Linked DNA regions of Homo sapiens: region 1 is linked to region 2. Evidence: promoter capture Hi-C in 16 types of primary human blood cells and fetal thymus (Javierre and others, 2016). All regions are on one chromosome and are shown on one strand. The core of a region is centred on a gene start or on the middle of the fragment in contact, and the rest is flanking DNA. Distances in the headings are between cores, read along the strand shown. Region 1 holds the start of FAM204A (family with sequence similarity 204 member A). Region 2 holds the start of CCDC186 (coiled-coil domain containing 186).

Region 1 (5,570 bases), core at 1,237-3,736, 4.2 Mb after region 2:
TTAGTCCTGGGCTAACACAATTTGCCATGAACTGAAAATATTTATATACTGTCCTAGTCTGAATAACTAGGGTTTCTTGTTTGTTTGTTTGTTTGCCCTTGAAAACCACCCATCGTTATTATTTAGCATACTTGGTCAGATAACAATGAATCAAAAACAGGGTACAGTTCAGTGGTTCCTAATCTAAGTATGAATATAGTAACAGGAGTCTCTAAGCTAATTTCAAAAAGCCCAAACTATTTTATTTTTCCCCTCAGTAAGACTGTACCATTCATCATTACAGGAAAAGACCAATTTAGTGAAGCACTATTTTTCACATGTTAATCAGAGGTTCACTGGTAGTTATAGGTCTGATTTTTATCAGAAAAAAACATTCATAAATAAGGTTGAGTAGACACAATCTTTCAAAATAAAGCAGCCAGGGAGAAATCAAATTATAATAAAAACCGTTCTAGATTGTGCACTGGTTACAGGGGGAAAAAGTCTTCAAAGTTGGAAAATGGTTTCTAGTCCTGAGCAACATAATTAGGAGAAAGCCACTGCATTTGTCTGGGCCTCCATTCTTAAGCTATAAAATAAAGGTTTGATCAAATGATCTCTGAGATGTCTTACAGCTCTAAAATGCCTCTTTATGATTTTGATATTATAAGTGCCCTAAATGCCCAGAGTCACCTCACTCCTGGATGTATCACTCCATTCTCTCTAGCACTGCAATCCTGATTAGAGCCCAGTATCCAGTAGATAAGGTTTCTCTCCTCTACCTAGCAACTCAGCCAAGAGGATGTTTTCAGAGAAACTCTGTACACTTCAGGACACTGAGAAGGGGAAGGAACCCTAGTTACAACAGGAAACACTAGAACCAGAAAGGGGAAACAAAGCAAGTCACTGCTGCACATGGCATACAAACAGTGTGGCAGGCCTTGGTTTTCCACTAATCTTCACAACAACCCTTCCACTAGGAATTACTATCTATATCAGCCCCTCCCCTACCCGCCCCGCCCCCAATTTACAGATGGGATAACTGACTTGCCTAATGCATTCTGATCCATTTGTTTTACAAAAATAGCCCCATGGCTTTAGATTATGAATTTTACAGAGCAGAGTTGTAAGCGGGGACAAGGATTTGCGACTGGGGCTGAGAATGATCTTAGCCTATAATTACAGACTTGTTAAATTTGGTTAAGAATTTTTTTCTGTACTTTTTGAGTACAGAAAGCTATGCAAGATGCTATACTAAGTTGCATACATCAAAGTCAAAGTCACAGTCAGAGGTTTGAGTAATAATGTCATATTTTCTGGACAACCAGACAGCTGCTTATAATCAAAACCCAAAAGATATATTTGAGCAGCTCGATGGGTAAATGTTTTCCATCTCTATTCCAGAATTTAAATTCCATTTTCATCGTATAAGGCTGTCTTATTTCCTATATTTTGTATTTGATTAGAAATAATTCCAGAAGCCTGAACTTCGTCTGATCTAAAATTAATTTCACTTGTATACTAATTATAAGCCACAATTATTTAACAATCTGAAGATTGTAATTTACATCATAATCAGAGTCTGTGACTTAAAAATAGTTACTATTTTCAAGCATGTTAACATCAACATTAACGTAAATATCCTATTTACTTTTATGAAATGAATGTGTTCCTTTTCTCAAAAAAGGTACAGAAAGGACAACTGAATTACAGGCCTGAGAGCGAATCCAGAAAAACTACTTATTTAGCAAGATTTTGCATGTATTCAACTGTTTTAATTAAAGAGAGTGTTCGTTTACTTGAGGCCTGGAAAACATTTTCCCAGACCCAAGATCCTGCATGGAAAGACAATAAACCAAGTTAACAGTTCAAGGCTCATTTTAAGTCGATTCCGCTGTGAGAATACTTACAGGGTCCAAGATTGCAAGAGGATGGGTCTAGAAAGGTACACCGTTCCTGCTTGGCTGCACAACCCGGAATTCTGCAGGCTTTCTGGCGGCAATGCCACACTCCAATCCCAAAAGAGAGAGAAGCCCCTCCCGGGCACAGAACTAAGCGCTGCACATTCCGGCGAAGGATGTCTAGCCTGCTGGCAGTCCCATTAACTGGAGCTGTTTTCCGGAATACAGCAACTGTAAACGTGAGCCTGTTTTCCCTATCGACAGCCTCCTCAATCCCCTCTCACTTTGACCTGGGTGGGACGGAGAACCCCCTCCACATAACAGGCTGGGGAGGCCGCTGCGACGCCCCTTTCGAGGAAGGCTGAGGGCGGCCCCGCCGTCGCTTCCGCGGCCCCGGGCCGGGGGCTTTTCTAGCCTGCTCCGGGAGGCTCGGCCGAGGAGCTATGAGGCCGCCCATGCCGCCTCCCTCGGCTGCCCACAAGAGGCCCTCCCAGACTCATCATGCCGGAGCCCGAACCGGCGGGTAACCAACCCTCCATAAGCCGTACTCACCTGTCAGGAAGTGGTCGCCCAGCAGCCATCTTAGGACCCCGTCAACATCGCGCCTTCTCATTGGCTCCTGCGTCTCAACCAATGGGCTGGGGCCGTTCTGGCCCTAGGGTCGCCTTAGCAACCGGCCTCCTGGGGCTTCCCTTTTTAGTCCGCCCGAAGGAGGTGGTTCCTTTCTTTCTTTTTTTTCTCTCTTTTATCTTGCCGTTTTCTCTTTCTTCTGAACATTTTTAAAGACTTTGTTCTTTCTTCATTCCCTGCTGTAGGCCAATGCGTCTGGGCAAGGAAAGGGCTGACATAGACCTTGAACTGAGAGTTGATGCCACCAGGAGGGAGAATCTTGCAGAGTGCTTTCTTTCTAGGCCCCTCTGCAAACGTCTTCATTCATTCATCCTTTCCCCTCACTCTCTTCCTTTTTTTTAATTTTTTTTCTTTCTTCACCTATTTATTGGGCGCCTACTTTGTACCAGGCATCGTGCTAATCTCTGGTTAGCAGAAAACATGCTGACTCTTGCTCTCTTGGCGCCTACCGTCTGGTGATGGGGTCCAAGGTGCTTCACTGACTGGACCAAAAGTTTACCGAACTTCTTTTTTTCTTATTTGTGGCAGGCACTGTGTTATGCCCAGAAGGGGGTGCTTGGGGAACATAGAAAATAAGGGGAAAAAAAAGAGAGAGAAAAGCACTGCGAAGAGGATAAAATACCCTATGGATAGGGATGGGAATAGGGCTATTTTAGAAATATTTGCATTTTCCGAAATACTGTTTTATAATAAGAATAACATTAAGTGTACCTATTTGCTAATTTTGTGATGATTATATAAGAAAAGCCTGGGCAACAGAACCAGACCCTATTTCAAAAAAAGAAAAGAAAAGAAAATACAGTAGGCTTCCCTCATCTGTGGCTTCTCTTAGCCTGATTTCAGTTACCTGGGGTCAACCAAGGTCCAAACACATTAAGTAAAAAATTCCAGAAATAAGCAATTCAAATGTTTCATTGCAAGCCCATTCTGGATATCCTGATGAAATCTGCAGTGTGAATCATCGCTTTGTCCATGCATGCTGTTAGGCTACCAGGTTCTTAGTCACTTAGTAGCCATCTTGGTTATCAGATTGAAAAACTATATGTGGGGTTCGCCATTATTCCAGGATTCAGGCATCTACCGGGGAGTCTTGGAAGGTATTCCCTGCGGATAAGGGAGGCTACTGTACACATAAAGACTTTAACATGTTACCTAGCCCACGCTAATTTTCAATCTCAGCTGTTTTTTGCTGTTAACATTACCAATAATGTCTTTCTTCAAAGCAAGCTAAATGTGTATAAAATTTTGCATTGCACTCAGTAATATATCTCAATTTCACATCAACAGATGGTTAAGCCTATTAACTATCCACTAAACCACCTCACCTCCAACATCTTCCAGAAGATGCGCCAAGTTTAGAGAGCAGTTTTCTATAACCCCAGAATCATAGTAAAACCTGAATCAGCAAGTTTGGATCGCCGAGGTCCCTCTTCCTGTTCACATTCTCTGATTCTAGAGTAGAAGCAAGGCTGAATGAGTTAAGGATCTGTGTAAAACTATTTTGGCCAAATCTGTTCAGCTTCTCAGTAGGATTTTCCTTGAATCCAAATCTTTAAAAAGTTAAACAGGTAACAAGAAGGTGTGCCTGAGAGTGCTGTTGTAACTGCATTAGGCTTCTTAATTGCTCTTCATCTGGGGATAGCAAAATACTACAGACAAGGTAGCTTAGGCAACAGGAATTTATTTCTCACAGTTCTAGATGCTGGGAAGTCCAAGATCAAGATGCCAGCAAAGTAGGTTTTTTTTTTTTTTTTTTTTGAGGCCTCTTCTCTTGCGTGGTAGGCAGCCACCCTTGCCCTGTCGTGCTCCCATCACCTTTTCTTTATATGCACAGTTTGGGGAGCTCTCCAGTGTCTCTTCTCTGTACTTAAAAGGACACTAATCCTGTTGGATCAGGGTTCTACCCTTCTGACCTTATTTAACCTTAATTACTGCCTTAGAGGCCACATCTCCAAACACAGCCACACTGTGGGTTATGGCTTTAAGATAGGAATTTTAGGGGTGCACAAACATTCAGCTCATAACAATTGCTGATGGTGGAAATGTTACCAGAATGGGGAAAGAGATAGCAGAGGGGGAAGAACTGAGGCATGGGGTAGGAAGGAATTAATGTTTGTATGTTTAAGAATGATCTGGGGCTGGGCATGGTGGATCACGCCTGTAATCCCAGCACTTTGGGAGGCCGAGGCAGGTGGATCACTTGAGGTCAAGAGTTCGAGACCAGCCTGACCAACATGCTGAAACCCGCTCCCCCCTACTAAAAATACAAAAATTAGCCGGGCATGGTGGCATGTGCCTGTAATCCCAGCTACTCGGGAGGCTGAGGCACGAGAATCACTTGAACCCGGGAGGCAGAGGTTGCAGTGAGCTGAGATTGCGCCACTGCACTCCAGCCTGGGTGACAGGAGTGAAATTCCATCTCAGAAAAAAAAAAAAATCTCGATTGTTTCTATATGGATCCCATCAAAGAATGCTCATTATTTAGTGCATATATTAATAAATGCAAGGGATAGAGGTGGCATATAATTATAACTACTACAAAGATTTACAAACACCAGATTTCATAGCAAAGGTTTTTGGAAAATCTTGCTTCAAAAATATCTAACATTTTAAAATTAAGTTTCTCAATACTGATTTGAGAATTCTTAATTACCTAATTGTTTATCACATTACTGGATGCCTATAATAAATGTAAATAATAGCTCAGACTTTTCTTCTCGCTCTGGTTGTAAGAACTTCAGTTTCTGAATATTATTGTTTTGTCAATTTTCTAGGGAAAATGTCAGTCCTTTGATTTATGTTAATCAATAAATTTACCTTTCTTCCAGCAAATTCCTGCCCTGGAAGCCTGCCAAGCCATGAGTTTTGTGAATGAAATACTTGTATTTGTGAGATTTCTATGAAATGTAGAATTGTTGGATACCTTTTACTAAATCATAGTGAAATATCTGATGCAGCTAGTGAATTGTGCTTGAATTGTGTTGCATCTGGCACTAATTTCAAGCATGTAGCTTTCATTTAAATTCTCAACCGTATCTTTAAAAACACAAAGCAGTTTTT
Region 2 (5,617 bases), core at 1,786-4,285:
TTTTCCTCCAAATCTGAAAAGGAATAAAGTAGGTAAAAAAAAATCTGACCTATAGTTCCTTTTTCAAAAAGGAAGGCTCTCAGGCCTTCCTTTACAGGTGGCTCACACCTGTAATCCCAGCACTTTGGGAGGCCTAGATGGGAGGATCAAATGAGGCCAGGAATTAAGAGAACAGCCTGGGAAACATAGCAAGACCTGGTCTATAAAAAATAATAATATATAATTTTTAATTAAAAAGATTAGTATGGTGGCCTGTGCCTGTTGTCCTAGCTACTCAGGAGGCTAAGGCAGGAGGATTGCTTGAGACCAGGAGTTCAAGGCTACAGTGAATTATGATCATACCACTATACTCCAGCCTGGGTGACAGATTGAGATCTTGTCTCAAAAAACTAAACAAAATGAAGCCTAGTATCTTTAAAAAAAATTTTTTTTCAAGTTATAAGCCTGCATTACATTAAAAAGTTTGGGTTAATGTTTAAATTTTGAAGACACCTTTGGCCAGAGTTGGTTAATTTGGTATGCTCTACTTTATTAAAAACATGAACTGATAGTCTACCGTGGGATTATGTAGTAAGTGCGGTAGACATTACATAGTCTACATAATCCCACAATTATCAGTTCAAGTGTCTTAATGATAGACAAATGTTAATAAGAAATACACTCACAATCCAATCAAAACTATGCTGGTGCTGATTTCCACTTTGTGTCTACTGTCCCTTCATCTCAGTATTTTTCCTTTTTCTTACTTTTTAGCCCAAATACATTTTTTAAATCTCAGTAGCTAAGAAAGTTCAAAGCAGTTTGAAACAATAGATTAAATTATCTATGATCTCACTGCTGCCCCTAAAATGAATACTAAGTATAACATTTGCAATACTGTAAACTCAGTGATATGTTTATGAGAAATTGAAAAACCAGCTTTAGTTATTTTAAGGTAGAGATAAAAGAAAAACCTAAGTTTTACTAAAAGAAAAAAAATTTCAGGGTAAGGATTCTTACTTTAACACGAAACTGTTGCATGAATTTGAGAAACTAGTGCAGATTACCAGTCCTTCTTCAAAGGGAAAGATTATTTTCTAAATCTCCAAATAAAGCTGCTTTGTGCTTCAACCTACTGTCTCTTCCTGGAGTCAGTATACTGCAATGCTTTTATCTTCACTCTGTGATGTCAGCATAAAGCTGCAAATAGATGTTTCTAAACTGAACATACTAAGCAATCATTAGCTATGCTGTCACTGCATAGCATTAAAGGACAACTCTACTTTATGGGTGAAAGAACTAAAAGGTTAGAGTGGTCACTGTGATACACACCAGCCAACCCTTTCCGTTAGCAATAAATAGGACTCAAAAGCCAATGACACACTATGGAATCTCCACTGTTTAAAGAAACCTTAAGTTTATATGCAGTTATTCTGAATTTAACAGGGCCTTTAAAAAACAAACACAATCCATGCATTTCCAGGGAGAATCTTCAGTAATCATACGTTTGCCTATTATGCTGTAAAAAGTTTTAATTCTTAATACTGCAAGATTCGTGATCTAATATCTTCACTGCATTAAAAATAACATGAAAAGACCAGAAATAAAAGAGAAAAATGAACCTAGCCAATCATTACTGTTTTTTATTTGTGTAATGTTGGATAAAGAATTGAAGTTACACAGGGAACAGTGTACATTACACACAGAGATAGTTCAGTTTCACTATCAATCTCTCTTGAACCTGAATCCTTCCCACGAGATGAACACTCGGTAAATATTAAGGTGTACTTGATAGTTGGGAAAGCCACACCCACAACTAGCATACCTAAATAGATAATAGCAGATTAATTTCTTCTGAATGACTACCAGCACACCTCTTGAAACCCTGATTTACTGAACACCTTAGAAGACAACACCCGGCCTATCGTTTTGGAAGAAAAAAAAGCTGGGCATCAAAGGAACATGACACACATGCAGAGAAAACGGCCAAGTACCTGGGACTGTACTGCGTATTTTTACTATATTCTCTCTTCTGATTTCCACAGGTAACAAGATTATCAAGTGAAAGAAGTAGGATTCTAATCCAGATGTTCTGACTCGAAATCCAGGACTTTTTCCTCTAAACAAAATCAAGATGGGAATATTAGGTGAAGTTGTTAAACTGTTAACAGCTAAGCAATACTCACACCTGCACTGTTTCCCAAGATTGCTACTTAGGGACACGTAGAAGGGTTTTTGTTTTGTTTTTGCCATTTTTCATTACTGATGGAGACATAAATCTGAAACCCCTTCCTTACCAACCAAGGTTTATGAAATGCCTTGACGTCCTTGAAAGACAACATAAAGAACAGTATCCACCACTCCAAAGAATCACTTCTAAGGAACTTAGAATCACAGTAATGGAAGTGTTTGGAAGAGGGTAACAAGTCTTCACAACAGTAAATATAAAACACCCACATACAGTCAACTTGAGACGAAAAACGAAATAGGCGATTGAGTCTAGGAAAGATTCTCGAGCAGGTAGGGCTTGGCTGCAGTTCACACGCAGCCCAGGCAATGGGCTCGAATTCAGACGCTCTCGAGGCACAGCCCCCACGACCCCCGCTGACCCCTCTTTGCCACCTCCAAGGTCCCGGAACCGAAGGAGGAAGGCAGGGAGAGGAAAGGGCTTGAAACCCGTTCCCCAGCCCTCCCCTTCCTCCGCGCCCTCAAAGGAGCCAGGCGGGGAGCCCGCTCGACCTCGACCTCCACCTCGCACTCGCCCTCGCCCCCGCCACGGAACGTGCAGGAAGGAGCGGAAGGCTGGCAGCCCCACCGCACCGCCACCGCGACTCACCGGTGTGCCCCGAGTACCCCTCAGACACTTACCCCACTTATCCAAGCCTCAGGCCACGCCCTAACAAGGCTGCTGGAGCTCTGGCTCAGGGGCCAACTTTTCCATAGCGGGGTCCAACCAGCCAAGAGTGGGAGGAAAAGACCGCGGTGAGAAACACAGCCGACGCCTCACTCAGCGGCCGTTTCCCCAAACCCCTGCGGAGCTGACACATCAACAAAGATGGCGGCGACACTGAAGCCGGCCCGGTTACAGCTGAGGGGGCGGGGGCTCCCTGGAGGAACCAATCAGCGCAGCGCGGGCGGGGTGACGCAGCACACCTTGAGGTCCTGGGTAACCTGTCTGCAGTGGGCTGGGCTGGCGGAGCTCACCTCCCACCTCCCGGCCCAGGAGGCCCCACCTTGCGGCCCGAGAGGCCCCGCCCCGCACTCCGCCTGGCTGGGCACCCACGCCTCCGCGACCTGGAGAGCCGGGTCTCCTGCCCTTTGGTCGGGTTCTTCCTTTCAAGCTCCTCCGGACCCACGCAGCCTGTTTCTTTCTGCAGGACGCTCTTGTTGGCTATTACTCCTCCTCACCCTTTGGCCTGCATGAGTCAGGGACATAAAGCAATAAAAGAGAATTTGAAATTGTGGCTTCCCGGCTCTCATGCGGAAACCTTGCACCTTACGTGGGCGGAGTCGGCTGGAGCAGGCTACGATGGGGGAGACCTCTGGGGGTTCCATAACAGCGCGTTCGTGTCTTCAGCGTGGCGCTGCTGCCATTGTTTAATAATAAACTGTCGGTGCCTTCGTCTCTGGCTTCAAGCTGAGCGCATTGATGGTAGGAAGTGTCCTCTCCCGGCTGAGTAACCTGGCACGCAGCATGGCAACAAAAAGTGTATTGGGTACAGTTGCCTCGCCCGGCCCAGAGAAGGAAGGTCAGCAGTTCAGTCTCTGGAGGTTTCGCAAACCTCCTCAGTCCGGGGAAACGATGTTCTTTGGTTTAGGTCTTACACATATCTCATGAATGAAAATAGCTGATGCAGACGATTCTGCAATGTAAGAATTTGTAAAGCAAAACTTACTACTGTTCTGTTAAGCGTCTTCGATACTGTTGGCAAAACACACACACGGAGGTGTAATGGCACCTCACTCCTCCTTAAATGAAGGTACTACACTGAAGCACATTTTGCAGTTAAAGTGTCTTGTCATAGAAAATAAATGATTTGACTTTAAAACAATAAATCGACCAAGCCTTCCTAGGGAGACATTAATCCAAGGGGAAAAAACTGAAGAAACCTTAAGCTGTTTTCGGTACTCGTCAGTAATAACATAGGTATTACTATTTCTGAATATTTCTGAATTTATAATTAGTATAAAGTATATAAATATATCTTTGTGAACCAAGTTTTTCACCATAAGAGAAAAGAAATACAAATATAAACCAAAGACATTATATTAAAATTCTGCAATCCTATATTTGAATTTACAAATATCAGAATTAACTCATGGTACATTTTTTTCGTGAAAAAAAAGGTGTGTCCACTGAAAACTCTTAGAACAGTGACCAACCCATTGCACACTCCTATTCCCCAGATTGTGATCTCTAAAGAGCATTGCCCAAAAAAAGTTACCTTGGCTTCTCTTGGAGGTTAAGTGCTGATTCCCAGTAGGGGCAAGAAATATGCAAGATAGCCTAGGACATATTGCTTGTAGCAGAAAGCAAGGAAGAAAAGCAAAGATAACATGAACTGTACCCAAAAGACTCAGAAGGCAGTTCAAAGATGCCCCAACTTCTCAAACAGGACAAATTTAGCATTCAAAAATAATAACAGCAACTGGTTGAGACGCACTATGTAAAAAAATCAGTGAGTGCATTTATTTTTTTTAATGTCATTGACCCTCTTGGAAAGATGCCAACAAGTCATTACAATCTGAGAACTGATAAAGAATCAAGCATTCATCCTACCTTTCCTGTTGCAAACTGAATGTCAATCAAATAGTCAATGTGGGGAAGCTCTTCTCTGTAGAACTCCATGTAATAATTGCAGAAAGAAAGATAGATGATCACCATTTTGCAAACCCTGATGAAATAATGGATCTAGGTAATGGTCATCTGTGAATCTAGAACCATTAGATGAAAAACTGATAGGAAGCTTCGTATTGTAATGGATGGATGGGGCTGGCACCACTTGAACCTACTAGATCAATCTTAATATCCTCCAAAGTGAAACAACTACATACTATGTATTTTCTGAAATGCTACAATAGAGAAGCACAACACCACCTGTGAAGTATTCCTGCCGGGGGATGCAATCAACAAAATTGAATGGAAAAAAAAAAAAACCCTGCAGTTACTGTAATAAATAAATTGCAAGAGAAGTACAGGATTTAAAGAGAAACCCCTTTTTAAAATATATCACTGAGTGCAAATACAGGATGTTTTGATACTGATTTGAACATATCAACGATTTAAGATAACATCTGAATGGCTGGGTGTGGTGGCTCACACCTGTAATCCCAGCCCTTTGGGAGGCCAAGGTGGGCTGCTTGAGCTCAGGAGTTTGAGACCAGCCTGGACAACACAGTGGGATCCCATCTCTAAAAAGAAAATTAAAAAATAACATTTGAGGTATCTGGAAATGTTTAGTATTAATTTTATGATATTAAGAAATTATGGCCAGGCACTATGGCTCACACTTGTAATCCCAGCTACTGAGGCAGGGTGATGGCTTGAGTCCAGCAGTTCAGGACTGCAGTGAACTATGACTGTGCCACTGCACTCTAGTCTGGGCGGCAGAGCAAGACCCTTTCAGAAAGAAAGGAA

What was found. The method cuts DNA at HindIII sites, captures the fragments that hold promoters and counts their contacts. A CHiCAGO score of 5 or more calls a contact.
Region 1: the fragment with the promoter of FAM204A here is called in contact with the fragment with the promoter of CCDC186 in region 2 in 1 of 17 cell types (naive CD8 T cells); the score reaches 5.1 in naive CD8 T cells.

Annotation. Positions count from the first base shown.
Region 1 is chr10:118,339,838-118,345,407 of GRCh38, forward strand. FAM204A (family with sequence similarity 204 member A) reads right to left here and starts at 2,487. Exons shown (of 9, transcript NM_022063.3): 1 at 2,433-2,487; 2 at 1,890-2,090. RefSeq lists enhancers at 2,292-2,791, 2,428-2,647. The HindIII fragment of the contact is 7,280 bases long and covers 1-5,570 here.
Region 2 is chr10:114,171,168-114,176,784 of GRCh38, forward strand. CCDC186 (coiled-coil domain containing 186) reads right to left here and starts at 3,036. Exons shown (of 16, transcript NM_018017.4): 1 at 2,848-3,036. It overlaps MIR2110 (microRNA 2110), which reads right to left and starts at 3,012; the gene lies at 2,938-3,012. It also overlaps a transcript of TDRD1 not described here. RefSeq lists enhancers at 2,718-3,246, 2,842-3,041 and a silencer at 3,102-3,371. The HindIII fragment of the contact is 5,809 bases long and covers 1-4,944 here.